Regions from separate parts of the Homo sapiens genome. Here regions 1, 2, 3, 5, 6 and 7 are each linked to region 4. The links are contacts of gene promoters, found by promoter capture Hi-C in blood cells and fetal thymus (Javierre and others, 2016). All regions are on one chromosome and are shown on one strand. The core of a region is centred on a gene start or on the middle of the fragment in contact, and the rest is flanking DNA. Distances in the headings are between cores, read along the strand shown. Region 1 overlaps LMNTD1 (lamin tail domain containing 1). Region 2 has its middle 89 kb from the start of LMNTD1. Region 3 has its middle 29 kb from the start of LMNTD1. Region 4 holds the start of RASSF8 (Ras association domain family member 8). Region 5 overlaps LMNTD1 (lamin tail domain containing 1). Region 6 has its middle 100 kb from the start of LMNTD1. Region 7 has its middle 60 kb from the start of LMNTD1.

Region 1 (4,277 bases), core at 1,326-3,825, 420 kb after region 4:
TTGATCAGGAAGAAAGTTGATATTAAGACTAAAATAAAAGAGTTATGATCAATTCATTTATATTAATATAACCATGCCTTACTTATTACATGAACAACATACTGAATTTGAAATGCTAGTAATAAGACATGTTGATAGAAGTTGTTAGATGGCTAAAAGAAATCAGAGTTGAGGGTCAGATATGAAGGAAATTTTCTCTCCCTTTATGCCATGTTTCCTAAAATCAATCACCCATGCCCTATTACAATTTAACAGTGGAGAATACCTAAGCATTTTTCTCTACTGTCTAAAAACACCTCATCAGATCCTTCATTCAGTACCTACTATGTTAAAATGATGAGCAGTTTGGAACAAAATAAAATGTTCAAAGCTTCTGTTAAAATGCAATCCTATTAAAAATGGTGGTGTAGAAGCAAGATGTCTTCAATCCCTATCCAGCCACCCCAGAAAACAAAAACAAATATACAGTGCCAAGATTATCATTATCATCAGCAGTATCTCAGAACTCAAATATGAGGATGAGACAATTCCTGAGGCCACAGAGAAGTGAGAAACACTCGTATAATAATTAAGCTCCCCAGAGGTCAAGGACAAAGAGAAGAAGCTAAAAACTGTGAGAGAAAAGAATTTGTCTAGCAACAGACTTCTCAGTGGAAACCATGTAGGTCAGGAGGTAATGAGACAATGTTTTTAATGTGTTAAAACCCTGCTATCCAAGAATAGTGTATCCAGCCAAGCTATCTTTCAAATATGAGGAGATAAAATCTTTCCCAAACAAAAGCTAAGAGAATTCACCACCACGAGACCTATCTTATAAGAAATGCTAAGGAGAGTTCTTCAATCTGAAACAAAAAAACACTAATGTTCAAAAAGAAAACACCTGAAAGTATAAAACCTCTGGTAAAATTAAGTACATGGAAAAACCCAGAATTGTAATTGTGGTATACAATCCACTCATTACTCTAGCGTGAATCCCAAAAGACAAATCTATCAAAAACAGTAATAGCTATAGCAGTCTGCTAAGAGATAGGCAGTATAAAAATACGTAAATTGAGAAAACTAACAGTCAAAATATGGAAGGATGGAGTTCCAGTCTAGAGATTTTTTCTTTGTTTCTATTCTTTCTTTTTTTCTATTCTTTCCTTTGTGATTCAAGGTAAGTATTCATCTCTTTAAAGTAACTTGTTATAGCTGTAAGATGTTTTTTGTAAGCCTCATGTAACCACAATGCAAAAACCTATAATAGATTCACAAAAAATAAAAAGCAATGAATTAAAATATACTACCAAAGAAAATTACTTAACCACAAAAGAATATAGTAATAAAGGACAAAAGGAAGAGACAAATTATAAAACAACCCAAAAACAAGAAATAAATTCTTCTTTTCAATAATAATACTTAATGTAAATGGACTCAATACTCAATTTAAAGGCATAGAGTGGCTTAGGGATAAGGAAACAAAATCCAGCTATATGCTGCCTAGAAGAAACCCACTTCACCTACAAAGGCATACAGACTGAAAGTGAAGGGATAGAAAAACTATTCCATTCAACTGGAAACCAAAAAAGAGTAGGAGTAGCTATACTTAGATAAAATAGACTACAAATCAATGACTATAAAAAGAGACAAAGAAGGTCACTATATAATGATAAAGGGGTCAATTCAGCAAGAAGATATAATAATTATAAATATCTGTACACCCCACACCAAAGCTCCCAAGTATATAAAGCAAACGAATAGATTTAAACAGAGATATAGACTGCAGTACAGTAGTAGGGCACTTTAACATCCTATTCTCAGTAATGGACAGATGAACCAGACACAAAAATCACGAAGAAACATCAGAGTTAAGTTGCACATTAGACCAATGAGGCCTGACATGTGCAGAACATTTCACCCAATTGCTGCAGAATATACATTCTTTTCATCAGCACGTGGAACATTTTCCTGAATAGACTCTCTCTTAAGCCACAAAACAAATATCAAAAAAGTAAAAATTATGTCAAGTACTTTTGTGACCACATTGGAATAAAACCAGAAATCAATTCTTGGAACTTAGGAAAATACACAAACACATGGAAATTAAGAAACACAGTTCCAAGCAACCAATGGATCAGTGAGGAAACTGAGAAGAAAATTTAAAAATGTCTTGAAACAAATGGAAATGGAAACACAACATACCAAAATCTCTGGGACACAAAAAAAAGCAGTACTAAAAGGGAAGTTTATGGCAATAAATACCTATATCAAGAAAGAAAAGCTTCAAGTAAACAATCTAACAACGTATCTCAAGGAGAACTAGGAAAGCAAGAAAAAAAAAACAAACTGAAAATTAGTAGAAGAAAAGAAACAATAAAGATCAGAGAAAAATAAATGAAATTGAGACCAAAAAATATAGATCAACAAACAAAAAGTTGGCTTTTTTCCATGGTGTTGGATTGTATCAAATACTTTCTATGCATCTAGTGAGATGATCATATGGTTTTTCTTTTTTAATGTTAAACATCCCTTCACTTTTACCATAAATATTTGGTCATAATGTTTATGTTTTACTATACTGTTTGAATTCCATTTGTTAAAATATTGCTTCAAACTTTTGCATCAATGTTTGTAAAGATTATTGGTCTGTAGTTTTCTTTCCCTGTAATGTCCTTGTCTGTTTTGGTATCACGGTAATTCCACTGTTTATGGAATGAGATGGGATATAGTCTCTCCTTTATCCTTTTCTAGAAGAGATTGTGTAGAAGTAATTTTTTTTCATAAATGTCTTATAGAACTTATTGGTGAAGCCATCTGGGCCTGGAATTTCTTGGTGGTAAAGTTTTAAAACTATAAATTGTTTTTAAATAGATATTAGGCTATTCTAATTATTTCTTCTTGAATAAGCTTGGGTAGTTTTTGTCTTTCAAGAAATGTGTCCATTTTTATCTAAGTTGTCCAATTATTTGCATAATGTCATTTATAATATTCTCTTATCCTTTTAAGAACTGTAGAATCTTTATTGGTATCACCTTTCTCATTTCTCATATGGTCATCTGTATCTTCTCTTTTTCCTGATCATATCACTAGAGATTTAGTTTTATTGAGCTCCTCAAAGAACATGTGTTTGGTTATATTGGTTTCCCCTATTTTTTGTTTTTTATTTAATTGATTTTCATTTTGGGCTACATTCCCTTTCTTCTGTCTACTTTGGGCTTTTTTTTTCTTCTTTTTTTATTTAATTTATTTATTTTTATTATACTTTAAGTTTTAGGGTACATGTGCACATTGTGCAGGTTAGTTACATATGTATACATATGCCATGCTAGTGTGCTGCACCCACTAACTCGTCATCTAGCATTAGGTATATCTCCCAGTGCTTTCCCTTCCCCCTCCCCCCACCCCACAACAGTCCCCAGAGTGTAATGTTCCCCTTCCTGTGTCCATGTGATCTCATTGTTCAATTCCCACCTATGAGTGAGAATATGCAGTGTTTGGTTTTTTGTTCTTGCGATAGTTTACTGAGAATAATGATTTCCAATTTCATCCATGTCCCTACAAAGGACATGAACTCATCATTTTTTATGGCTGCATAGTATTCCATGGTGTATATGTGCCACACTTTCTTAATCCAGTCTATCATTGTTGGACATTTGGGTTGGTTCCAAGTCTTTGCTATTGTGAATAATGCCGCAATAAACATACACGTGCATGTGTCTTTATACCAGCATGATTTATAGTCCTTTGGGTATATACCCAGTAATGGGAGGCTGGGTCAAATGGTATTTCTAGTTCTAGATCCCTGAGGAATCGCCACACTGACTTCCACAATGGTTGAACTAGTTTACAGTCCCACCAACAGTGTAAAAGTGTTCCTATTTCTCCATATCCTCTCCAGCACCTGTTGTTTCCTGACTTTTTAATGATTGCCATTCTAACTGGTGTGAGATGGTATCTCATTGTGGTTTTGATTTGCAGGTCTCTGATGGCCAGTGATGGTGAGCATTTTTTCGTGTGTCTGTTGGCTGCATAAATGTCTTCTTTTGAGAAGTGTCTGTTCATGTCCTTCGCCCACTTTTTGATGGGGTTGTTTGTTTTTTTCTTGTAAATTTGTTTGAGTTCATTGTAGATTCTGGATATTAGCCCTTTGTCAGATGAGTAGGTTGCAAAAATTTTCTCCCATTTTGTAGGTTGCCTGTTCACTCTGATGGTAGTTTCTTTTGCTGTGCAGAAGCTCTTTAGTTTAATTAGATCCCATTTGTCAATTTTGTCTTTTGTTGCCATTGCTTTTGGTGTTT
Region 2 (3,925 bases), core at 1,294-3,793, 320 kb after region 4:
CAGCACCCTGCAGCCTCAACCTCCTAGGCTTAACCAATCTTCCCACCTCACCCTCTTGAGTAGCTGAGACCACAGGCACATGCCACCATGCTTGGCTAATTTTTTTTTTTTTTTTTTTTTTGTAGAGAAAGGGATATCACTATGTTGCCCATTCTGCTCTTGAACTCCTGGGCTCAAGTGATCCTCCTGCCTTGACCTCCCAAAGTCCTGGGATTACAGGCATGAGCCATCACACCTGGCTTCAAGCTTCTACTTAACCATTTACTGAATCTGCTCTGTCAAGGCCACCACAATCTTAATATTGCTAGATCCTATGTGCACTTCTCCTGTTTTCATTATACTCACCTTCTTCACAGCCACAACTGATCCAGCTGTCCAATTCCTTCATGGAAAACTTTTCTCTCTTGGCTTTTATGATGAACGCTTTCCCATATCTAGCTCTGGCCAATCCTTTCTTTATTTCTTTTACTTTATCTGATCTCAATACTGGACTGACTTCTAAATCTATGTGCAGTCTCTCCAGGTGATCTTGTCCAGTTCCTGACCATAAATGTCAGCTATGTGCCATTTGCCATTCATCCGACACCCTGAATTTTGGACTCATAATCAACTAACTACCTGGTACCTCCACTTGATAACAAACATTGACTTCTCTGGCACTTTCCATCAGGATCCTGTCCAACAGCCACTCCTCCCTTCTTCTTTGCCATCAGAACCTTGATTTTATGCAGTTCCCAGGGGGCCATGGTCTTCAGGGTGACTGGTCATCCAAGTGACACTCGATTAGTCATGGCCCCATCATGGCAGCTCAATTCCTGTTGTCAGCAATCGGTTTAAAAATTGGAATGCACATGTGGCACAATTCTGGCTAATGAGTTGAAAGGAAAATCTGCTACAGAACTTCCTGGGATATTTTCCTTGCTATTAAAAAGGAATATGTAAGTCTCTTCCTTGTTTATCCTATATTCTATTGTCTATAAAGCCCTCTATCATCCGGCCCTTGTTAACCTTTTTCATCTCATGTCATTCTTTCTTTGCTTACTCAGCACACTGGCCTCCTCTCTATTTTTCAAACCCACCAGGTGTCGGGGTCTCTGGCCTTGCTGGATGCTTCCCCTGAATACCTTTCTTAAAGTTCTTTGCATGTCTTGCTCCTTCTTGTCATGCAGGATTCAACTCAACTGTCATCTGTTTAGAAAGGCTTCCCCTGCTCATCCCACTATAATCATAAATGATAATGTAAGTTTTATTTATATTTCTGTCATGACTTGCTGTATGACTCTTATTACAATCTAAAATTACCATGTTATATGTTTTTTTCTGTCTCACTCAAGGATCATAAGATCTTAGAGAAGCTTATTCTTAAAGGACTATTAATCCTTCTTCAAGGCTATGATCTTGTGCTATATTTTCAGAGCCTAGAACAGTGCTTGGAACGTTGCATTAACTGAATTGTTGAATGCATACTGACCTCTAATATCGAAAATATATCATAGACGTGGCATGACTAAATAGAAGATTTGAAAATACAGTCCTGAGAAATCTGACTTGTGGGACATATATAAAATTCCAATTGGCTGTACTGAGCTCAGGTTGGGGCTGTGGCACCAGAGTGAAGTTAATCCACTGAGCATCAGCTAAGGTAGCTCTGACTCAAATAATGTCCTTAAGAAACAGGCTCTCCATGCTTTTCTTTTCTGAGATGAGGAGAAAGAAGATTAAAAGAGATTAAAAGATTTTAAAAGATTGAACAAGTTTAAATATTTTTTGAAAGGAAGAAAGTTATATTTGGAGAATAAAGCTAATGTTAATTTTTGGCACCTTCAGTACTAAAGCAGAGATGACCAAAGACAGATGGAGTGTTGTAGTCCATTTGGATTACTTTAATAGAACATCACAGGCCAGAAGGATTAAACGACAAACATTTCTTTCTTACAGTTCTGGAAGCTGGGAAGTCCAAGATCGGAGTGCAGCATGGTTGGGTTCTTAGTGAGGGCCCTCCTTCTGGTTCATAGATGGCTGTCTGTCTTCTCATGAGATCCTCACACAACAGAGAGAGAGCCCCAGTTTTCTCACCCCCTTATAAAGATATATTTAATCACATTATGGGGGCTCAACCCTCATGACCTTATTTAAACCTAATTACCCTCCGAAGGTTCCACCTTCAGATACCCTCACAGTGGTGATTAGAGCTTCAACAGATGAATTTTGGGGGAAGGATCACAAACATTCAGTTCATAAGCTTCCTTCTCTCAAGGCCCAAAACAAAAATATAGTTCCTTACCTGGACCCTTTAACATATATTATTTTGTAAATGGCATCTAAATCATAAAATTCATTCCACTAACTTTGGGGAAATGTTTTTTAAAGATTTGGATGGAGTATGGTTGGGTTAATGAGGAGACTGTACAGTAAGGAAAACTCTTGGGTTGCTGAATTGAGTTTTAGAATTTCTGACTGAAATTCGCAAATTTGGTTTAGTATAAATAATTTCAAGCTACTTTTTAAAAAGTGAAAAGTCCTACTATGGTTGTAAGTAATAGTACAAATAATAATGATATATTTATTATTCAAGAGTGAAAAAAAATTAGGATGGGAAAGCAGAGAAGCCTAAATGGATAAGACCAGGTTTTCAGCAGTTGTTTAATTTCCAAATTGTGCATCTCTTATATTATATTCTGTGGAACTGCAGAGTTTCATAATGTTTCTTTTATTATTTACTACAAAGTTTGATGTGACATATGAAATATACACTTTAAATGTTTACCCTTGTGGATAAATAATAGTACAAGCAGTTATTATATTACTTTTATAAAAAGTATATCTATTTGAAGTTAAGCTTAATAATCATAACTTCCATTTATTGACCATTATGCTGGTTTCTAAATACACATTATTAATAATCTTACCAAGTAGGAAAGATGTTATGTTATTCCCCTTTAACTGAACAAAGGCTTAAATACTTACCTCAGGTCACATTGATAGTAAGTGCCACAGACAATATTTGAACCCATTATTTTTTTCCTGACAATAAACCTCAGAACCTTTCCATGGCATGTAGCTTACTGTATCAGCCAATAATTTTCTTATTGCTGTTCATTTTTTTCAGCCAAACTGCTGGTTTATACATGCACCTTATAAAGGAAAGGAAATCAAGACATCAATATTACCTAGTCTTGGTAAAATTCAAATTTTGCTACATTAGTACAGCCTTATGAACATTAATAAAAACAGAATACTATTACCTTCTTGCACTTATCAGATCTATTCTATAGTCATCCATCCATCCATCCAAAACATACTGGTTGAGTACATACTACATGCCAAACACAGTATTAGTTGCAGAAATTATTTTTCATCTGAGTATTGCTAGTACCAAGCACTTTTTGATGTCCTGTAAATGTTTGTAGTATGAGTAAATGAACAGAAAAGAAAACTAAATATACTTCAAATTAAAAACACTTTTCTGGCTGGGCACGGTGGCTTACGCCTGTAATCCCAACACTTTGGGAGGCCGAGGCAGGTGGATCACGAGGTCAGGAGATCGAGACCATCCTGGCTAACACAGTGAAACCCCGTCTCTGCTAAAAAATACAAAAAAAAAGTTAGCCAGGCATGGTGGTGGGCACCTGTAGTCCCAGCTACTCGGGAGGCTTAGGCAGGAGAATGGCGTGAACCCGGGAGGTGGAGCTTGTAGTGAGCTGAGTTTGCGCCACTATACTCCAGGGCCTGGGCGACAGAGCGAGACTCCGTCTCAAAAAAAAAACAAAAAACCTCTTTTCTTCAATAAGCTGATATTTTATTACAATTGTAATGTCATGGATAACTAATAAATTTTTAAATAACATTATTTAATGTAATTAATGATTCTTAATATATACACATAGTTATGTGATCACCACAATATAATTTTAGATTTTTTTTT
Region 3 (3,759 bases), core at 1,016-3,515, 380 kb after region 4:
AAAGTAGTCCTTTAAAGACACAAGCCAGATCATGACACTCATTGGCTCAAGGTTCCCTGGCTTGTGATTTTCCTTCTCTCTCAGAGGAAAGCCAAAGTCCTCCCCCTGTACTGATAAGACCCTGAGGCTCTGGCCTCTCCTTCGCCTCTCACTCATTTCTTATCACTGTCTAAGCCCATCCCCATCACTCTCTGCTCCCTCTCCCAGCCTTACTAGGCTCTTTGCCAGGTCCTATCTCAGATCTCTGCACTTGTGGCTCCCTCTACCAGCGGAGGCTGGTGCATTAACCCAGGTACAAGATTACAAGGACAAAATATTAGAATTGAATCACTGAGATTCAAAAAGATACGGGGAAATCCAAGGCACATTTAAGAATGAGATATGATATCTCAAATAGGAGCAAGGGGATTAAAAAGGGTAAAAATAAAATCTGTGTTCCTATATTGTCTAAAGATATTTTTGGCCAGGTGTGGTTGCCTGGTAATCCCAGCACTATGGGAGGCAGAAGGAATGAGGATTGCTTGAGCTCAGCAGTTCAAGACCAGCCTGGGCAACATAGTGAGACCTCGGCTCTACTAAAATTTTTTAAAAACATTACCGGCCGGGCACGGTGGCTCACGCCTGTAATCCCAACACTTTGGGAGGCCGAGGCGGGTGGATCACGAGGTCAGGAGATGGAGACCATCCTGGCTAACACGGTGAAACCCCGTCTCTACTAAAAATACAAAAAAAAAAAATTAGCCAGGCGCAGTGGCGGGCACCTGTAGTCCCAGCTACTCGGGAGGCTGAGGTAGGAGAATGGTGTGAACCCGGGAGGTAGAGCTTGCAGTGAGCCAAGATACCGAGATAGCACCACTGCACTCCAGCCTGGGCGAAAGATCGAGACTCCGTCTCAAAAAAAAAAAAAAAAATTATCCAGGCATGGTGTCACGAACCTGTAGTCTCAGCTACTCAGAAGGCTGAGGCAGGAGGATCATTTGAGCCCTGGAGGTCAAGGTTGCAGTGAGCCATGATCGTGCTACTGCACTCCAGCCTGGACAACAGAGTGAGACCTACTCTCAAATAAATAAATAAACTGCTTAAATAACTTATTATATATTAGGTGACAAAAGTTTTCAGGTATAGGTTTGGTGTGCATTTCGTAGTTAGCATTGCAAACTATCTCCTAACTCTAAAATTCTATAATTAGCAGATACTATAAAAATGATTATGAAAATCAAATACAGATGATTTCTCACATAACTCTGCTTATAGAGTATTGACACAGTCTTATTTAAATATCAAATTTAGGTTGTCATATTTTAAAAAGTTTTTTCCAGATGTATGGTTTCATGAGAAGCCATCTGCAACTTCCAAAAATTTATTCGGAGCCCATGAAGTTTTAATGTTTCCGCACTTTGAGGTCTCCTATTGAATATTCCACTTTTCTCATGATCTAAGTGTTTTGTTTGATTCTTTATAGGCTTCTGAGCAAGATCACCATTTGGAGACAGACTTATCTAAAGTGAGTTATAAATTTGTATGCAATTTACCGATTAACAGGTATGAAAAATAACAGCTGATTTAATTTAATTATTACATCATAGGATGATAAGCTTGGAAGTGAGCTTTGCATAATATTCCCTGTCATGACCGTCCTCTGTTGACACAGATACATAGACAGGGTTATTTGTGGCTGTAGAAAATGTGAAGCAGACAGTACTTGGAAGTGAAGGGAAGAAACCACAGCAAGATCTTGCCTGTAATTCTTCTTTTGGTCACTCTGGCATCCTAGTTAGATCCTGAAAATCCATATGGAGCTACCATATAATCTTCCTCTCCCTCAGTGAAGAAACATTTCAGACCTGTTGGCTGTGGGACCCATGATACCAGGCTTTTGCCCCTTCACATGGATGAGGATGAGATAAAAGTCGAGGAATAAAGGAAGTCAGGTGTAAATAAAAGTAAATACAGCCAAGTCCTGCATAAAGATCTTTCGATCAATGATGGACTTCAAATATGACAGTGGTCTCATAACATTTTATTGCATTTTTACTGTAGTCTTTCTATGTTTAGATACACAAATACTTAGATTGTGTTACAATTGCCTGCAGTATTCAGTACAGTAACATGCTATACAGGTTTGTAGCCTAGGGGCAATAGGCTATCCCATATAACCTAGGTGTGTAGTAGGCCATACCATCTAGGTTTGCATAAGTACACTTTGTGATGTTTGCACAACCAAAATCACCTAATGATGCATCTCTCAGAACTAGAACATATACCCATCATTAAGCAACACACAACTGTATATTTTCTAAACTAGATTTAACTCTTTATAATATCAATTATTTTTGTCAGTTTTTATGTCAGAATTTGATACCTATGATGATAAAGTTTAATCAAAAGAGTAATATATTTGAAAAATAATGGCTTCATTATTAAATTCTGTGATTTAGAGGTGCTCAATTTCTTGTCTTAGAATCGCCTTTCCTAATCCTAATAGGTTCAAAGAGTCAGAGAAACAACATAACTATGATAACATTACCCATCTTGACAGCTGACCTGCCAACTACATTACCTTGTTGCTCCTCACATTTTATCAGCAAAAGAGATGCCTCCATTGAAAATGAATCCAGATGTTTTAAACGCAGATGCTTTGGAGATAAAACAACAGTAGTTCTGTTTGACAAATAAAGCACTGCGCGGGGCCTTTAGCTTATCCCTAGTATATAACTCTGGCCATATGACCATTTCTCAGCAGCACAGTCAGCACTGGCTCATAATAATAGGCATGCAGTCCATTGTGATGTCTTATGTACGCTGCTACAGGATGCTTCCAGGAAATATAAGCCTTATCTGCCTTTTCCTCCTCTCTTTTGATTGGAGAGATTGCTGTTCAGAATAGAAATCTTCTCTACTAACTTAAATTAGTTCCAAGTAGGCTAAAGCTTACTGTTCATGGGGGATTATATGCCATGTCCTTAAATACATGGTCTTACTTGTTCTCTTAACAACCCGGTAAGGGAGGTATCCATTTCCCCATTTTGAAAAGGAAGAAATAGATCTCAGAGAGGTTAAACAGCTTACCAAAGTCTCATAGGTTTAAGAGATTGCTCTCAATTCAATTTCCGGTTTGTCTGATTTCAAAGTCCAGGATTTTCCCACCCAGGTTCAAAGAAGGAAAAGTCATGAAATTACCCAAACTAGAGGTTACTATATCTGACCTCTGAACTTACCAAATCCATAGTGTAGCTTTGATCGTTAAACAGGTTGATGATAATTTTGGTATAGATCAGGCAAATTTCACAATTATTTAGATAAAAGTAATTCTGTTTTAGAAAGAATTACTATAAAGACTGTCTATATTTTGTTCATTTTATCAAACATATAAGGGTACAACTATATGAGGATATTATGCCAGTCCCTGGAAATAGGATGAATAAAGCACAGCCCTTGCCCTTAATCTCGTAGCATCATGGTAAAGATAGATTTGAAATAATGCCAGCAACTGGGAGTGTTATTCATAATATTTAATACTTGTGCTGAACAAGTACCCACCAATCAGAATGGAGACTGACTATATACAGCTGGTATGGATGGCCACAGTGCAAATGATTGCGTATCAGTTTTGCCTTAACAATGGAATCAATACTGAAATAGAGATACATGAAAACATCAATGGAAAGGTGGATGGAAGGAGGGGCCAGAGGGGGTCATGAAAAACTACAAAATAGAGATGATGCATGATCTGAACCTTAACAGATAAGTGGGAGTTTT
Region 4 (4,139 bases), core at 1,573-4,072:
GGAAACTCTCTCTACACTTTGAATTTTTAAGTCTATTTAGGGTTAGAGCAAGTTAGCATCAAAGAAGAGTAAATAAACGTTATATTATTTTGTAATCCAAATCTTTAATTTATGATGCATGTTTTTCTATCCAACTCCCATTCCCACTCCACTTTTACTTGCAAAGAGTTTTGTAATGTTTTGAACACTAGCAAGATATCTAAGATCTTAATGTTTTATAATAAAGGAGCAAAGCCATTATGCCAGGAATTAACCATAAGAAAAAGACAACAATATCCCACGGCAAACAATATTTTTACTTCCAAGTCATTATATACATCAACATAAAACAGATCAATTAATGAGTCAGAAACCCTGAAGAACTAATCATTTCTCAAAACACAAGGCAGTCAGGTCAAAAACTGACGTAAGTCACCACGTATAGAAGCCTACAAGAGCCAAACACTGAAGATTCAGGTTAAAAGGTTGCAACCTTAAAAAAATAAATAAAAGGCAAAACAAATTATACAACCATGTCGAATTTTAAATCTGTAATTACCAAATATCTGAACCAAATGCCAAATTCAGGAAACATGCATCCTATAAACAACTTAAACACTCTCTGTTCTTTGTAACTGTTTTTTCCAGAAGCACACTGACACTTCTGCAAAGTGAAGTGCCTTTCCTGCCTGCACAGCCCCATGATTTGCTCCCTCTCAGGGCCCTCTAATGCACCCCTAAGCTACTAAAGCCCAGACATAAGATTTGATCAATAAACCTAGAAAGAACTCAGTGCATTACTGCCAATTGTGTCCATCACAGAAAGTACCACCTGGAGACTCTTGAGGAAAAAAATGAGGAAGGGGGAGATTTTTGAAAGGTTTTATCATCTGTATTACAAATTATATTTTGTTGTACTTGATCCTTGAATAGAATAATCATCAAACTATGTTCAGTCTTCTTCAAGTGGGGGATGGTCATGTGTAATTTTATGGTTTGGGGAGTGTGCCTCATAGAGATAAATAAAATTAAAAGTACCATTAGTATGCCCGCTAAAAGATAAAACTCACACAAACCACTTCCCCAAATGATAGTGCTGTCTCCTGCGTCCTGATTTTTGCGTCCACCCTGCACCTCTCCCTGCAGAAAGCTGGCTGGCATTCACTACCGCCTCACTCTGGCAAAGGACAGGATGTCGAAAACCCATTAAGAAAGCTTCTCATTTTCTGTTCCTTCATAACATGATGGCAACTCCTGGCAACTCCAAGATGAAAGGCAAAAAAGAAAATAAAAACTACCTGGGGCCCCCTACCAGAATGAGTGGTTAATCTAATGGAGAGAAAAGCAGAGATTTATACATATTTTAAAATGCTTCCTGGGGACAAAGCAGATCTAATGAATTGCTGAGCCACAATCTACTGGAAAATCCATAAATGTTCGTCCCTGCTGTCACAGGGCTAGAGGATTTTTTTTTTTAATGAAATGCTTTAATGCTAACCTGACAGGGCTAACCTGACAGGTTTAAGTCAGCTATGAGACGTGATTTGCATTCATTTCGCTTCTAAATCCCTAAAGATCAGCAACAATATTGACCCGCAATTATATATCCTACGTTGCACTGTTCAAGATGCCATTTGAGGCTGGGAAAGTAGTGGTTTAGCAACACCAGGCGGCTCTATGATGCTAAAATAACAACGCAACACTGGATTCCGAACCCAAGTACTCATCTTTTAAAACCCAGTGCCGCACCAGGACCCACATTCAAAGCTCGCGTCCCTTCAAGTTGAATCTTCCGGCTTTGTGCGATTTACCCTCTCAAACTTTCTAGTTTGCAAGTCAGAATTACTTTGAACGTCCCCTCTTCTGGACTCCCCTCCCCAAAGGGACTGGCGGCAAAGGAGAATAGAATGCAGATGGTTAATAGTTCAAATGAAATTTAAAAACCTATAAACCAATATTTTTTTAGAGGAGAAAAGCGTTCACCAAACCGCCACCCGGCAAGCGAGCATCCGATTTCCATCCGGAGGAAAAAATATTTTAAAAACCAGACATAAAATTCCCTTTGCAAGAAAAGTGGCCTCTAAACTCCCTTGCCAAGGACACTGGGAGGAAGCAGAAAAGCAAAGACCAAGCTCGTACTTTTCAGTCCGCGGCTTGTGTGCCGCGAGGAGAGGCGCAAAGGGTGACACACCAGGAAAGGTGAACGCAGAGGGAGCGGGAGCCCGCGGCGGGGCAGGGTGGGGGCGGAACGGACGAGGTACCCAAGGTGCGGAGAGAGGGGCAACCGGGCGGAGGGCAGCTCCGAGGCTGCAGGCGGGACGGGCGGGGTCCCCGGCGCAGCCCGGATCGCCGCCGCTAAGTAAAGTTAATACTTACTCAGTTTCGCAACTGCGCCGCCCCCGCAGGCCGCCCAGAGGGGCCGGCCGGGGCGCTGGGGACGCGGCGGCACCCGGAGCTCCGCGGCCGCCCAGCGCCCGTCCCCGCGCCGCACTCCCCGGCACTCCCCGGCGCTCCCCGCGCCGCGCGCCCCGCACCGGCTGGAGGCCCCGGCCCCCCGGCGTTCCCTCTCCGCGCACCTCCCGGCCCGCGCTAGGTGAGTGTGGACGCCACTGGCGGGGGTGCCGCGGTGCGCGAGCGCTCGGCCAGCGGCAGAGACGCCGCGGGAGCCGCCCCCAGCGCCAACGCCGCCGCGGGCGGGAAGGGCGAGGCTCGGCGAGGCTGGGCGAGGAGCTGGGCGGCAGACGCTGAGCGGGGCGCGGCGCGGGGCGCCGGACGAGCGCGGGCGTAGGAGGAGCGCGGGCGTAGGAGTCGGCGACCCGCTCGCTCCCGCGGCCGGTGCCTCTGGGCTGGGGGCCGGGCTGGGGGCCGGGCCGGGCCGGGCCGGGCCGGGCGGCCAGGCGGCTCCGCCCCTTCGCCGGGCAGCGGCTGAGCGCGCGAGAGGAGCGGCGCGGGGGCGCCCCCCTCGGCCGGGCGCTCGGGTTTCAGCCGCCGCTCCTCCGCGCCCCGCCCGCGCCTGGCCCGCTCGCCGGCGCCGGGAGAGACCTCGTAACGGAACTGGGACGCCAGCGCTGCATTGTGGGAGCTTTTAAAGCGGCGGGGAGCTCGGCGCGACCCTCGGGCCCACCGGGCCACGCTCGCCCGGCCCGCGACGCCCCCCCGCTGTCGCCTGGCCCGCGACGCACCGAGGCCTGAGGACCCGAAAGCCGGGCGCGGGGAGATGACCGGTGGCTCGTGACGGTCCCACGGGCAAAATCTTCCATCGCCCGGGGCTGAGACTTGTCAAACTGCCCTCTACGGTCACCCGGAAAGTAGGAGGCTTTTTCTGCAGAGGGGAAAAAAATCAAAAAGAGCCGTTCCATCCCCCCTCCAAGGACTGGGTTTGAATTGCTTTTCATCTGCAGTGGCTGTGATTCAGCGTCCCTCTTAGCAGCAGGCAATGACAGAGGCAGGAGAGGGGAAAAAAAAAAAGAAAGAAAGAAAAAACACAGCAAATGAATCAAACGGACGTGAGTAACAAAAGTTTAGAAAGAGCTGGGCTCGTATTCAGAAAAAACGCCTCATCCCCCCGCCCCGCTGCACTCCCAACCCCTTTAAAAATAGCAGATAATCAAGAAAGGAAACGGGTGCTTTCATATGGAAATACAGATGTGTATGTTGTTTTCAATATTCTACTGTTTTTTTGTGTGTGGCATGCAATTACTCAGGCACTGGGCAAAATTCAGCCTTTGGATTTTGTGGTCACACATACCCCAACTCCGCAACAGCTATTAATTTGCAGGGCGATGGGGTGCGGATAGTGGATGAGATACAAGAAAGCATTCCAATTAAAATGCCCCCCCCCACCCCGCCTTTTAATTTTCCAGACACTTGCTTTTATTTTTCTTTTTTTAAACATCATCAAAACAAGAATATTAAACTTGAAGCAGAATTTGTTACAGCGTATCTGACTCAGGACCTGATTTAAGGTTTGGGGTTTTTTGGCCCTTTGTTTCTTCCTCTTGTTTTTTGACCTTTAGTTACTCCACACCTCATTAGTTCCTTGACCTGCAGGTGGACTGAGAAGAGAGCCATGGTAAGACTCAAATTTGTCAAATCAACATTTGGAGAGGAGAAAGTTCACTGTGATTCAAATGCAAAACCAAAGGGAATATGATTTAAAA
Region 5 (3,712 bases), core at 441-2,940, 470 kb after region 4:
CTATAGGGAAATTGACATGTGCAAGGAGCTGTCTCAGGAAGTAAGAAGGACATCCTTTAAGAGTATCAACCTAAATTGAAAAGTTGGCTTGAATTATTATGCTAAGCCTATGCTATAACATTTTCAGGTAAAAACTTGATGGATATTCCAGTCTTAAGACTTTTGAAAAAATGTGTTCATAAGATTGACTGATATGTTCTTCTAAACTTGTCCTGCTGGTTTTGCCAAAATGCTGCACCATTTAGTTCACATTACTGTTCAAGATCCCACAATGACTCTTACTTTCCCATAGTTTGAAATCTAAAGTAAACTCTAATGTTTGCTAAGTTTTCTGGTTGATTTCTGGACGTATATCTCTCCCTTCTGTGTTTATTTGTGCAATCACTGCCTCAATTAGCACCTTATTTTATGTAAATTATCAACTCCCTAAATGTTCCCAAGGACTCCAGCTTGCTAAAGTTACCTTATCCTTTTAAAAGGCTAACAAAAAATTGGCTTGTAACCTGCCCCCACAATGGGAAACCTATTGTCTCTCCTAATAACTCTGAGGAATGTTGATTGTTTAGGGGTTAAGCTTCCCTGGTCACTAATGACCTCCTGGTGAATTCCCCATGGTCTATCCCTGTGTTGCCTTCTGTGCATGCTGTTCTTTCCCAGCAGCACATCACCATCAGGCTGGCACCACCTCAAATCCTCCAGCACCAAACTACTTTCTACACAAGACTGTATGTGTCCAGCCCACATTGCCTTGGGGCAATAGAGAGAATTTGTTACTTGGTCTATAACCCAGCAAATAACTTAGAACTGAAAGTTTATTGTCTCTGAAGTCTTTTGGGCATTCCCATCTCTAGCAATTTCTCAAGGACTTTCTCCCCATACAGGCACGTTACGTTGCTCCATCAACCTTCCTTTCTCGTCTCTTTTCCTTAGCTTCATAGTCCAGTTCTAGCTCCTCCCCACCACCCCTCTGTAGACTTTCCTGTTACTTCTCTTATAGAAAGTTTCTCTTTCAAGCTTTTTTGGTTAAATAAGGTTAGTCTTGTTCCAAAAGAAACACATTTCAGATACAATGTCTGCTTCATACTGCATTATACCCATTGCCCCACTCTCTTGATCAACATTTGATTTTCTCCGTATAAAATGCTAAGTTTCCTTTGGTAATTATTTTATAGAAAAAAGGGGAAAAAATGATCAAGCACCTATGTGGTAATCAGCCACTGAACTAGATACTTTTAACTAGTTATCATTTCATCCTCAGGCGGCACTGGGCCCCAACACCAGTAGCCAGCTAGAGCTCATCTGTAGCTGCTCCATCTCTATCTGGCAAGAGCCATATGGTTTGCCTCAGTCAATTATTGATTTCACTTTTATAAAGGCATGCCACTTTGCCTTTTGTAACCCTGGAATTGTGTTTGTCAAAGACTAGTCCTTACAGCAGTTGCATTGCATTAGGTGGGAGTTTGTTAGAACTCCAAGATCTTAGAACCCACCCAGACCTACCAAATTAGAATCCACATTTTAACTCTCTTCCTGGGTGGTTAGTGTGCACATCAGATTTAGAGAAGCACAAATCTCCATATATTACTAGGTTCACAGTATCTTTATAGATTCTTGTTGATTAATGTCTGTATTCAATTAGGATTGCTGGCTCAGCATTAGAGGACATTGATGACCCTATATTTCCAGAAGCAGCAGCAAAATAACTGTCCAAAAATAAAGGGAAGGCTTTAGTTCTGAATTTAAACTATTTGCAAAAACTTAAAAACTGATTTTCATGTTTATAGTTCCCTTCCGCACCTCTGTAAAATGAGGTTTCCTTTTTCCATACCTTAAATGTAAGAATGTAAGGGCTTCACTTCTAACTTTTATAGAATGATCCATTCCACCTAGATAATAGATTTACTACTTTTGCTCATTGGCAACTAAAGAGTATATACCTTGTTCAGATTTGTAATTGCCAAGTGTTTTAGAAATGAGGCCCTTGAAAAAGGATATTATAGTTTAAACTTCACTTAATGTTAAAAAAAATATTATGGTCAATAGACCCTCTTTGAACTTCCCAAGTGGAGTTTTGCTAGTTCTTTTGCAACTAGCAAAAAACCCATTGTGAATATCTGTCATTTTCCATAGTTTCTTCGCTAGCTGTAGGTTTGTTTGCTTGCTTATTTCTTGCTAACTTTTTAAACAGGAGGGATTAGAGAAAAGTAAGGGATAGTGTTACAGAAGAATACATTACACATTACAGGCTTATCCAAAGCCTTCAGATACCGAACAAATTGTGGGGTGGAGAAGCAGAGAGTTAGAAAGGATATTTGCTGAACTGGTTTTTATTTACAGTCAAATAGTTTAAAAAGAAACTAAGCTTTCTGGTTTCCTTTAGATTTTTATCAGTACCGTTTTTACAGTTTCTCTTTGGCATCAAAATAAATCTTTCTGATATATTACTTCAAGTGAAACCAATAAATTTATAGCCACAACATAAAGATTTTGGAAGCTTTTTCAACATAAAGATTTTGGAAGTGCTTTCAAATATTTGAAATCAGTACATACAATCCTTATATCCTGAATCGTCATTCACCTTTTTATTTTTCAATAATATCACCAGGTTTTCTTTTGTAATTTCATTTCTTTTGCAATTTCATTACAAGCGAGTTTCTTCATAACTACTTAAAATGGCTATTGGGGACTGAGAGGGGAGGAGCCAAGATGGCCGAATAGGAACAGCTCCGGTCTACAGCTCCCAGCGTGAGCGACGCAGAAGACTGGTGATTTCTGCATTTCCATCTGAGGTACCAGGTTCATCTCACTAGGGAGTGCCAGACAGTGGGCGCAGGTCAGCGGGTGCGCGCACCGTGCGCGAGCCAAAGCAGGGCGAGGCATTGCCTCACCTGGGAAGCGCAAGGGGTCAGGGAGTTCCCTTTCCGAGTCAAATAAAGGGGTGACGGACGCACCTGGAAAATCAGGTCACTCCCACCCGAATATTGCGCTTTTCAGACCGGCTTAAAAAACGGCGCACCACCAGACTATATCCCACACCTGGCTCGGAGGGTCCTACGCCCACGGAATCTCACTGATTGCTAGCACAGCAGTCTGAGATCAAACTGCAAGGCAGCAGCGAGTCTGGGGGAGGGGCGCCCGCCATTGCCCAGGCTTGCTTAGGTAAACAAAGCAGCCGGGAAGCTCGAACTGGGTGGAGCCCACCACTGTTCAAGGAGGCCTGCCTGCCACTGTAGGCTCCACCTCTGGGAGCAGGGCACAGACAAACAAAAAGACAGCAGTAACCTCTGCAGACTTAAATGTCCCTGTCTGACAGCTTTGAAGAGAGCAGTGGTTCTCCCAGCACACAGCTGGAGATCTGAGAACGGGCACACTGCCTCCTCAAGTGGGTCCCTGACCCCTGACCCCCGAGCAGCCTAACTGGGAGGCACCCCCCAGCAGGGGCACACTGACACCTCACAAGGCAGGGTATTCCAACAGACCTGCAGCTGAGGATCCTGTCTGTTAGAAGGAAAACAAACAGAAAGGACATCCACACCGAAAACCCATCTGTACATCACCATCATCAAAGACCAAAAGTAGATAAAACCACAAAGATGGGGAAAATCAGAACAGAAAAACTGGAAACTCTAAAACGCAGAGTGCCTCTCCTCCTCCAAAGGAACGCAGTTCCTCACCAGCAACGGAACAAAGCTGGATGGAGAATGACTTTGAC
Region 6 (3,886 bases), core at 655-3,154, 500 kb after region 4:
TAGTTTTGTCAATATTGTCAAAGATTAAATGGTTGTAGGTGTGTGGTTTTATTTCTGGGTTCTCTATTCTGTTCCATTGATCTATGTGTCTGTTTTTGTACAAGTACCATGCTGTTTTTGTTACTGTAGCCTTATGGTATAGTTTGAAATCCAGTAATCTGATACCTCCAGCTTTCTTCCATTTGCTTAAGATTGCTTTCACTATTTAGGCTCTTTTTTAGTTTCATATGAATTTTAAAATTGTTTTTCTAATTCTGTGAAAAATGTCATTTGTAGTCTGATAGGAATAGCATTGAATCTGTAGATTGCTTTGGGCAATATGACCATTTTAACAATATTGATTCTTCTAATCCACGAGCATGGAATGTTTTTCCATTTGTTTGTGTCATCTATGATTTCTTTCAGCAGTGTTTTGTAATTTCCCTTGTAGAAATCTTTCATCTCCTTGGTTCAATGTATTCCCAAGTAGTTTATTTTATTTTTGTGGCTACTGTAAATGAGATTGTGTTCTTGATTTGGCACTCAGCTTGAACATTATTGCTGTATAGAAATGCTATTGATTTTGCACATTGATTTTGTATCCTGAACTTTACTGATGGCATTTATCAGTTTTAGGCTTTTGGTGAAGTCTTTAGGGTTTTCTAGGTATAGAATCATATCATCAGTGAAAAGAGATAATTTGACCTCTTCTTTTCTAATTTTGGATGCCTTTTCTTTCTTTCTCTTGCCTGATTGCCCTGGCTAGAACTTCTAGAACAATGTTGAATAGGAGTGGTGAAAGTGGGCGTCCTTGTCTTGTTTCAGGTCTTAAGGGGAATGATTCCAGCTTTTTCCTATTCAGAATGATGTTGGCTGTGGGTTTGTCATAGATGGCTTTTATTATTTTCAGGTATGTTCCTTATATGCTGAGTTTGTTGAGGGTTTTTATTATGAAGGGATGTTGGATTTTATTGAAAACTTCTTCTGTTATCTATTGAGATAATCATATGGTTTTTGTTTTTAGTTCTGTTTATGTGGTGAATCACATTTATTGACTTAGGTATGTTGAACCAACCTTGCATCCCAGGAATAAAGCCTACTTGATCATAGTGAATTAACTTTTTGATATGCTGCTGAATTCAATTTGCTAGTATTTTTCGAGGATTTTTGCATCTATGTTCATCAAAAATATTGGCCTGGCTTGGCGTGGTGGCACATGCCTGTAATTCCAGCACTTTGGGAGGCTGCAGATCACCTGAGGTCAGGAGTTCGAGACCAGCCTGACCAATATGGTGAAACCCTGTCTCTACTAAAAACATAAAAATTAGCTGGGGCTAGTGGTAGGCACCTGTAGTCCCAGCTACTCGGGAAGCTGAGACAGGAGAATTGCTTGAAACTGGGAGGCGGAGGTTGCAGTGAGCCGAGATCGTGCCTGGGCAACAAAGTGAGACTCCATCTCAAAAAAATAAATAAATAAAATTGGCCTATAGTTTTCTTTTTTGTTGTATCTTTGCCAGATTTTAGTATCAGGGTGATAAATGGCTTTGTAGAATAAGTTAGAGAGAAGTTCCTCTTCCTCAGCTTTTTGGAAGAGTTTCAGTAGAATTGGTACCAACTCTTTGCTGTGCACACAAACTACAAAATCTAGAGGAAATGGATAAATTTCTTGACACTTGCAACCTCCCAAGATTGAACTAGGAAGAAATTGAAACCCTTAACAGACCAAAATTGAGTTCTAAAATTGAATCAGTAATAAAAAACCTACCAAAAAAAAAAAAAAAAAAAAAAAAAAGCCTGGGACCAGACAGATTCACTGATGAATTCTACCTACCAGACATACAAGGTACACCACCACCTCATCCTAGATAGACAGGAATTTGAACTGCTGCCCTATCACATCTCTGTTCCAGAGCTCATGACTCCTAGATCAGATGTACACTGTAGCCTTTTTCTGAACCACAATGTAGTTGAGAGCCTCAGGGGTTGCTTCATTTGTGACTCTCCGTGGCAGTGGTTTTGGGGCAGAACTTCATCACTCAGCCTAATTAATACAGATGGCATTGTGGCTCACCATTCTCCAATGTGATAGCACTGCATCTTCATGTAAAAGGGGTTAGGGGGCCTCCGCCTTTGGGCCTGTGCAGGTTGTGGTGATATTGGCTGGGTGGGTGGGTCCAATCTCAGGCCCTGGGAGAAATGGTCAGGTGTCAGCAGAATTGGAATGGGGTTCTCCAACTCCCCAGCCCCTAAATGGCCAGCTGGACAGCGTGTATGAGTCTTGATGGGGCTGGATCGGGTGGAGCCTGAGTTGCTGGTTGTGATAGGGAGGGCCAGGCTGGTCCCTGAGTTACCAGCTGAACTCTCACATAGGGTCAGGTGGTGGGATCTCGAGGGAAGATCACAGGCCTGTGAAGATAAGGTTTTCACGGCTGCAATGTTCATACATGGGCGATGTTGGTGCATTGGAAGTCAGAAAGCAGCAAGCCCTGTTGGGAAGGTGCAGTGGGGTCATGGCCTCTCTGCAGGGCAGCTGCTGGCTTGCTGGAGACTCCCCAAAGCACTCAGGCTTTTTGTTCCCTCCCCAGCCTGGGGGCAGCAGCAGGAGGGCACTGCAATGGCAGCCAGTGGCAGAGGGCCTGTTAGTTGTCTCTGGGAGCTCCACCACAGAGAAATGCAGAGCCCTGGCCATAGGACTGACTGCACTTCCAAGCCCAGGGGCCTTGCCTGGAAATGCGCAGAGTGGGCAGGAGCTTGCAGGAAAGACAGTCTGACCTCCTCTCTGTTGGGTGGCTGCGGTGTGCTGGAGGTGCCTGTGAAAGCAATCAGGCTCCATGTTCCTCCTCCCTAGTCTGGGGGCAACAGAAGGTACCACAGAGTGGCAGAGGGGCTGTTGGTTACCTCTGGGAGCTACACTGCAAAGAAATGCAGAGCCCTAATGGGGGACCAGAGTGCTCAGGTGGGGTGAGGTGGCTGCGTTGGGAGCCTAGGCCAGGGGGCCTTTGCTGGGGAGGAGCAGTGGAGACAGGGCCTGCAGTCTCACTCCTTATCAACACTTATCCTGGGAGCATGTGAAGGAGCCTGCCCTTCTTTTTTGGTGGAGGTAGGGCAGCTGGCTACAGGGTGCTCAAGGATCCAAGGTCTGTGGGGCTCCATGTGGGCTTCAGCAGTGGCTCTGCCCAGAATCCAGGCAGCTCTCTGTGTCAGTCTGGAGGCCCAGGGTGGGAGGTTAACAGGGGCGGGGCGAGCGCTTAGGGGGAATCTCTCATGCCCAGGATTGCAAAGGAGCATGGGGGAAGTGTGGGTCCCGGGGGAATCTTGCTCACTCACCCTTTCCCCTTGGTGGGGAGTCTCCCCAGCTCCACACCCATCCCAGGCGGTCAGCGACCCTGCTTTACTCTTCTCTGTTCTCCGTGGGTCCTGTTGCTTCCTTGATGAATCTCAGCGTGGCCTCCTGGATAATCCACTTGAAGAGCTAGGATTTACTCTCCACTCTCCTCTCTGTGAGAGCCGTGTGCATCAGCTGCTTCCAGTCAGCCATCTTGAATTCTCCCCTACAACGTTTTTAATCAGTCAGAGTTCAACCAGAAGAGTAGAAACTGCTTTCAAAACTGTATTTCAAACAGAAAACCATTAGCACCGTAAACCCCATCTCTACTAAAAATACAAAAAATTAGCCGGGCGTGGTGGCGGGTGCCTATAGTCCCAGCTACTCGGGAGGCTGAGGCAGGAGAATGGCATGAACCCGGGAGCTTGCAGTGAGCCGAGATCGCACCACTGCCCTCCAGCCTGGGCGACAGAGCAAGACTCCGTCTCAAAAAAAAAAGAAAAAAAGAAAAAAAGAAAGAAATTACTGAAAAACTAATTGGCCGCCTTTAAGGAATGTTAGAGTGTCAATTTATTATGCTGA
Region 7 (3,906 bases), core at 1,350-3,849, 350 kb after region 4:
TGCTCATGTGTTTTACTGCACCATGTTGCTGACTCATGGTCAGCATGTGACCCACAATGACCTCATCTTCTGCATTCACCCATCCCCATCTCTCATCTCGTGAGCAAGAAGCTTGTTCTGCTACCTAAATTTCTCCCTTTTAGCTGAGCCTCATTTTGTTTGGCCACTATTACAGGCTGGATTGTGCCCCCCTGTATTTATCGGTTGACGTCCTTTCCCCCAGTACCTCAGATTGTGACGGTGATGCAGATAGGGTCTCAACAAAGGTAATTAATTAAAAATGATGTCATTAGATTGGGCCTTAATCCAATATGACTAATGACCTTATAAGAAGAGGCGATTAGAACCCAGACATCAACAGAGGGAAGACAGTGTGAAAACAGGGAGAAGATGGCCATCTTTAAGCCAAGAAGAGCCTCAGAAGAAACAAACCAAACCTAACAATACCTTGGTCTTGGACTTCCAGTTTCCAGAAGTATGAGAAAATAAATTTCTGTTGTTTAGGTCACCCAGTCTGTGATACTTTGTTGTGGCAGCCTTAGCAAACTAATATAGCCACTTTCCCTATTTGCCAAGCACACTTTCAAGTCTGATTCTGTCTCCCAAGGTGCTAGACTCTGCAATCTGCCAAGTCTGTTCTACCGCAGTTAACCTCTGTTAACAGAAGAGAAATACTGTTCTCTTTTGGGTTTCTGAAAACTAACTTTAGGAGGAAAACACCCCAAAAGGAATAGGCACAAAGTCTATTGCATGTGATAGTATCTTGGAGGGTAGATTAAACTCTAATCTTGAACTCAGTTCATGGATGACTACTCTGCAAGATGTCTGGAGAAGCAGCTTCTCCAGATGTGCTGAGCTGGAGGTCAGCATTTAAGGTGTCACCCAGATACCTGGTAATTGAGGATTTGGGTTGTAGGGAGCTCATCAAGGGAATGTGTCTGTGCTCAGTACCGAGAACTGAGCTATAGAAATCTCCAGGGCTGGTGGAGGCAAGAGTAAGAGAAGTTGGAAATGAAGCAGAAGAAGCAACTGATGAGGCCAGAAGAGAACTAGAAAAATGCGTAGGAAGCTTAACAAGGAATAGACAGAAAAAAAAGAGGACATCGCTTACCCCACCCTTCAGTCAGTCTCCCTACTCCCACTGGCGACTGATGACTTGTCTTGATAAACCCAATGGACACTTTTTTTAGATACTTTTTTTTTTTACCCACCAGCAGCAATTGACATTAATAATCATTCTCCTTCATTTTGGAAACCACTCTCTTCCTTTGTCCATGATACTCCTCTCTGCTTTTCCCTTTGTCCTTCTGTCTCCTCTCCCAATGCTTCCGCCTATCTTCTCCCTTAGTTGCCCCTCAGCTGCCAGCTGTATTTAGGAATCTGCTTGAATCCCATTTCTAAAGGAGCCCCTTTAGACTCCACACCCTCCTCCCACATCATCCATCTCTTTCATAGGTGGGGTTCTGTGAAAAAAGTGAAAGTATTTCCAAATACTTTCTCTCTTTCCAATGTTTACTTTTCCTATGACCTGTTGACAGCAAGATTCTATTGATATTAAATATTTTTTCTAATAAGCTAATTTAATTTATGCATGCATTCAATCATCTCTTAATTCCCTTAACAAATATGCATAAGGTTTTATGTGCCAGACACTATTCAGAGCACTGCACTACAATGTTAATTATCAAATGAGGCTCATTTACATTTTGCCAGAAGCCTTCAATTCCTAGGTCCAAAGAAGTAAGTCATGATCATAGAGTTAACATTTTTGTTGCAGTTTACATAATGCTTTTGTGTAATTTATGCCATATAATGCTCATAACAACTGCAAGAAGTAGATTGATCAGGTATTGTTTTAACCTCAGGAAACCAAGGCCCAGTGATTCCCACTAAAAGATCTAGCTAAAAAACGGTAGAGTCAAAACACACACAGGTCTTTTGGTTCCTAAGCTTATCTTGATTTCATTTCTACCCGTCATGTCAGAACCAGCAATAAGAGTGCTTTAAAGTCTAGAAGAAGAACAGGATCTGTGTGGTGCATTGACTTTCTGTTGCTACTATAACAAATTACCACCAACTTCATGCCTTAAAACAACAGACATTTATTCTCTTAAAGGTTTTGGATGTCAGAAGTCCAAAACAAGTGTCTCACTGGGTTGAAATCAAGGTGTCTTCAGGGCTGCACTTCCTCCAGAGCTTCCAGGGGACAATCCCTTTCACTGCATTCTCCTATATTCTGGAATCTGTCCTCGTTCCATGGCTCATGACATTGCTCTTTCTCCTGCTGCTGCCATCATCCCATTGCCTTCTTCCTCTTCTAGCAGATCTCCCTCTGTCTGCCTATAAGAACACTTGAGACTACATCACAGGACCCACTCAGATAATGCAGGAGATCACCTTACCTCAAGATCCTTAATCTATTCACATCTGAAAGTCACTTTTGCCATATAAGGTAACTTTCACAGGTTCCAGAAATTAAGACCTAGATGTCTTTGGGGCCATTATTCAACCTATCACATATGGTAGCCTTTAAACTCTATACACGGGGGACATTTAAAAATATATATATATATAAAGTCATTCCAGCTCTAGACTCCTTTTTCTGTTTCCCTGCATTTAGATCAGTTCATCAGAGCTTCATTCATTCAGCCAAAGGGATTCAGGCACCATGCTAGATACTGGGCATACAACAAGCAGATAACAGTGGTGAAGATAAAAATAAGATCTGATGCGAGTTTACATTACCTGAGTGACTCAGCAAAGGTTTCCTAGATGTAAAATTGCTTGACCTAAGCCTTGAATAGCAGTAGGAGTTTGTTAGGCAGATATCAAAAGAAAGAAGTCTAGAAAAAGGGACAGAGATGGTCCAAAGCCTAAAAGTGTAAAATCCACAGTGAATTCCATCCAGGCTGTGAGTAGTGGTTCAGTGTTGTTGACAGTGGGAGCGCGTGTGTGTGTGTGTGTGTGTGTGTGTGTGTGTGTGTGTGAGGGACCTTAGAGACTCAGATAGAACTGGTTAATTGTAGGAAATGATATACTTTTTTCCAGATTGTTCATTCATTTGTTTTAACAAGAAGCATTTGAGTTAATCTAAAAAAATTTAATTTTGCTATCTCTCCATCTAAAGCCACAGTATTTTTCTTATTTCTTTAGTTGGCAGTGAAAAGCCCTCTACTTCACTGAACACACACAAAAACCTTTGAATAGGTACAATTATGTTAAAGGCTAAGATGGTAAAACAAGCTTAATAAGCACTCTATCCCTGGATGGAAATTTTTTGCTGTTCCATGAAGAAAATACTCCAACGGATAGAAGTTTACTCTTAAATTCCACCACACAGAATAAAGAGAAAGCAACCAAAGAGGAAATGTTATGGATCAGAACTGGCAAGCAAAGGAAATCCAAGTGTATAAAGAACCATTTAAATCAGACTGGCATAAAATGAGGTCCATTCTAATCTAACTTTTGAATGCATTGCTATTGCTCTCTAAGGAAATGGGATCAGGCTCATTTTCCAAGACCACTTGACTGGAAAAATAAAATCAAATAAATATTTTAGCAGTACTCATGGCTATGACTGTGTGTGTGTACGTATGTGTATGAGAAAGAGAAAGGGAGTCAATCCTTTACTTCTCAATCATATTTTGGAAGCATTCTCATTATGTTTTTGTTCTTTAAGGCAATATACTGTAAATGTTCTCAAATGGAATAGTGGAACACTGGAGCTAAACCATTATACCTGAGTAAAATGATGAGTGGGATTAAACTTAACCATCTGAACTCAGCTACATAGTCGAGGATTCCAGTGTGGACAAACTTCCTTCATCCTAGTCCCTCCTCATCACTGTATTCCTCACAGCCTGTGCTTAAATGTTCCCATTCTAAACAAAACAACCCCTCCTAAAA

What was found. Contacts are between HindIII fragments. The CHiCAGO score rates a contact against its expected background, and 5 or more counts as called.
Region 1: a contact is called between a fragment that was not itself captured here and the fragment with the promoter of RASSF8 in region 4, in 1 of 17 cell types (endothelial precursors). The highest score is 5.1, in endothelial precursors.
Region 2: a contact is called between a fragment that was not itself captured here and the fragment with the promoter of RASSF8 in region 4, in 2 of 17 cell types (endothelial precursors and megakaryocytes). The highest score is 8.1, in endothelial precursors.
Region 3: a contact is called between a fragment that was not itself captured here and the fragment with the promoter of RASSF8 in region 4, in 1 of 17 cell types (endothelial precursors). The highest score is 7.3, in endothelial precursors.
Region 5: a contact is called between a fragment that was not itself captured here and the fragment with the promoter of RASSF8 in region 4, in 1 of 17 cell types (megakaryocytes). The highest score is 5.1, in megakaryocytes.
Region 6: a fragment that was not itself captured here is called in contact with the fragment with the promoter of RASSF8 in region 4 in 9 of 17 cell types (endothelial precursors, M2 macrophages, M1 macrophages and 6 more); the score reaches 9.1 in endothelial precursors.
Region 7: a contact is called between a fragment that was not itself captured here and the fragment with the promoter of RASSF8 in region 4, in 2 of 17 cell types (endothelial precursors and megakaryocytes). The highest score is 7.0, in endothelial precursors.

The regions. Positions count from the first base shown.
Region 1 is chr12:25,541,679-25,545,955 of GRCh38, reverse strand. All of the region lies in intron 4 of LMNTD1 (lamin tail domain containing 1), which reads left to right. Among named protein-coding and RNA genes, the nearest start is that of LMNTD1, 9.5 kb to the left of the region's middle. The HindIII fragment of the contact is 626 bases long and covers 2,263-2,888 here.
Region 2 is chr12:25,640,510-25,644,434 of GRCh38, reverse strand. It overlaps a transcript of LMNTD1 not described here. Among named protein-coding and RNA genes, the nearest start is that of LMNTD1, 89 kb to the right of the region's middle. The HindIII fragment of the contact is 597 bases long and covers 2,245-2,841 here.
Region 3 is chr12:25,580,167-25,583,925 of GRCh38, reverse strand. It overlaps a transcript of LMNTD1 not described here. Among named protein-coding and RNA genes, the nearest start is that of LMNTD1, 29 kb to the right of the region's middle. The HindIII fragment of the contact is 1,335 bases long and covers 1,598-2,932 here.
Region 4 is chr12:25,957,365-25,961,503 of GRCh38, reverse strand. RASSF8 (Ras association domain family member 8) reads right to left here and starts at 2,822. Exons shown (of 6, transcript NM_001394098.1): 1 at 2,356-2,822. It overlaps RASSF8-AS1 (RASSF8 antisense RNA 1), which reads left to right and starts at 2,062. Exons shown (of 4, transcript NR_038228.1): 1 at 2,062-2,178. RefSeq lists silencers at 2,211-2,260, 2,401-2,450, 2,521-2,620, 2,721-3,210. The HindIII fragment of the contact is 3,942 bases long and covers 1,197-4,139 here.
Region 5 is chr12:25,488,634-25,492,345 of GRCh38, reverse strand. All of the region lies in intron 9 of LMNTD1 (lamin tail domain containing 1), which reads left to right. Among named protein-coding and RNA genes, the nearest start is that of LMNTD1, 63 kb to the left of the region's middle. The HindIII fragment of the contact is 1,348 bases long and covers 1,017-2,364 here.
Region 6 is chr12:25,451,838-25,455,723 of GRCh38, reverse strand. No RefSeq gene overlaps it. Among named protein-coding and RNA genes, the nearest start is that of LMNTD1, 100 kb to the left of the region's middle. The HindIII fragment of the contact is 4,379 bases long and covers 1-3,886 here.
Region 7 is chr12:25,611,372-25,615,277 of GRCh38, reverse strand. It overlaps a transcript of LMNTD1 not described here. Among named protein-coding and RNA genes, the nearest start is that of LMNTD1, 60 kb to the right of the region's middle. The HindIII fragment of the contact is 1,293 bases long and covers 1,953-3,245 here.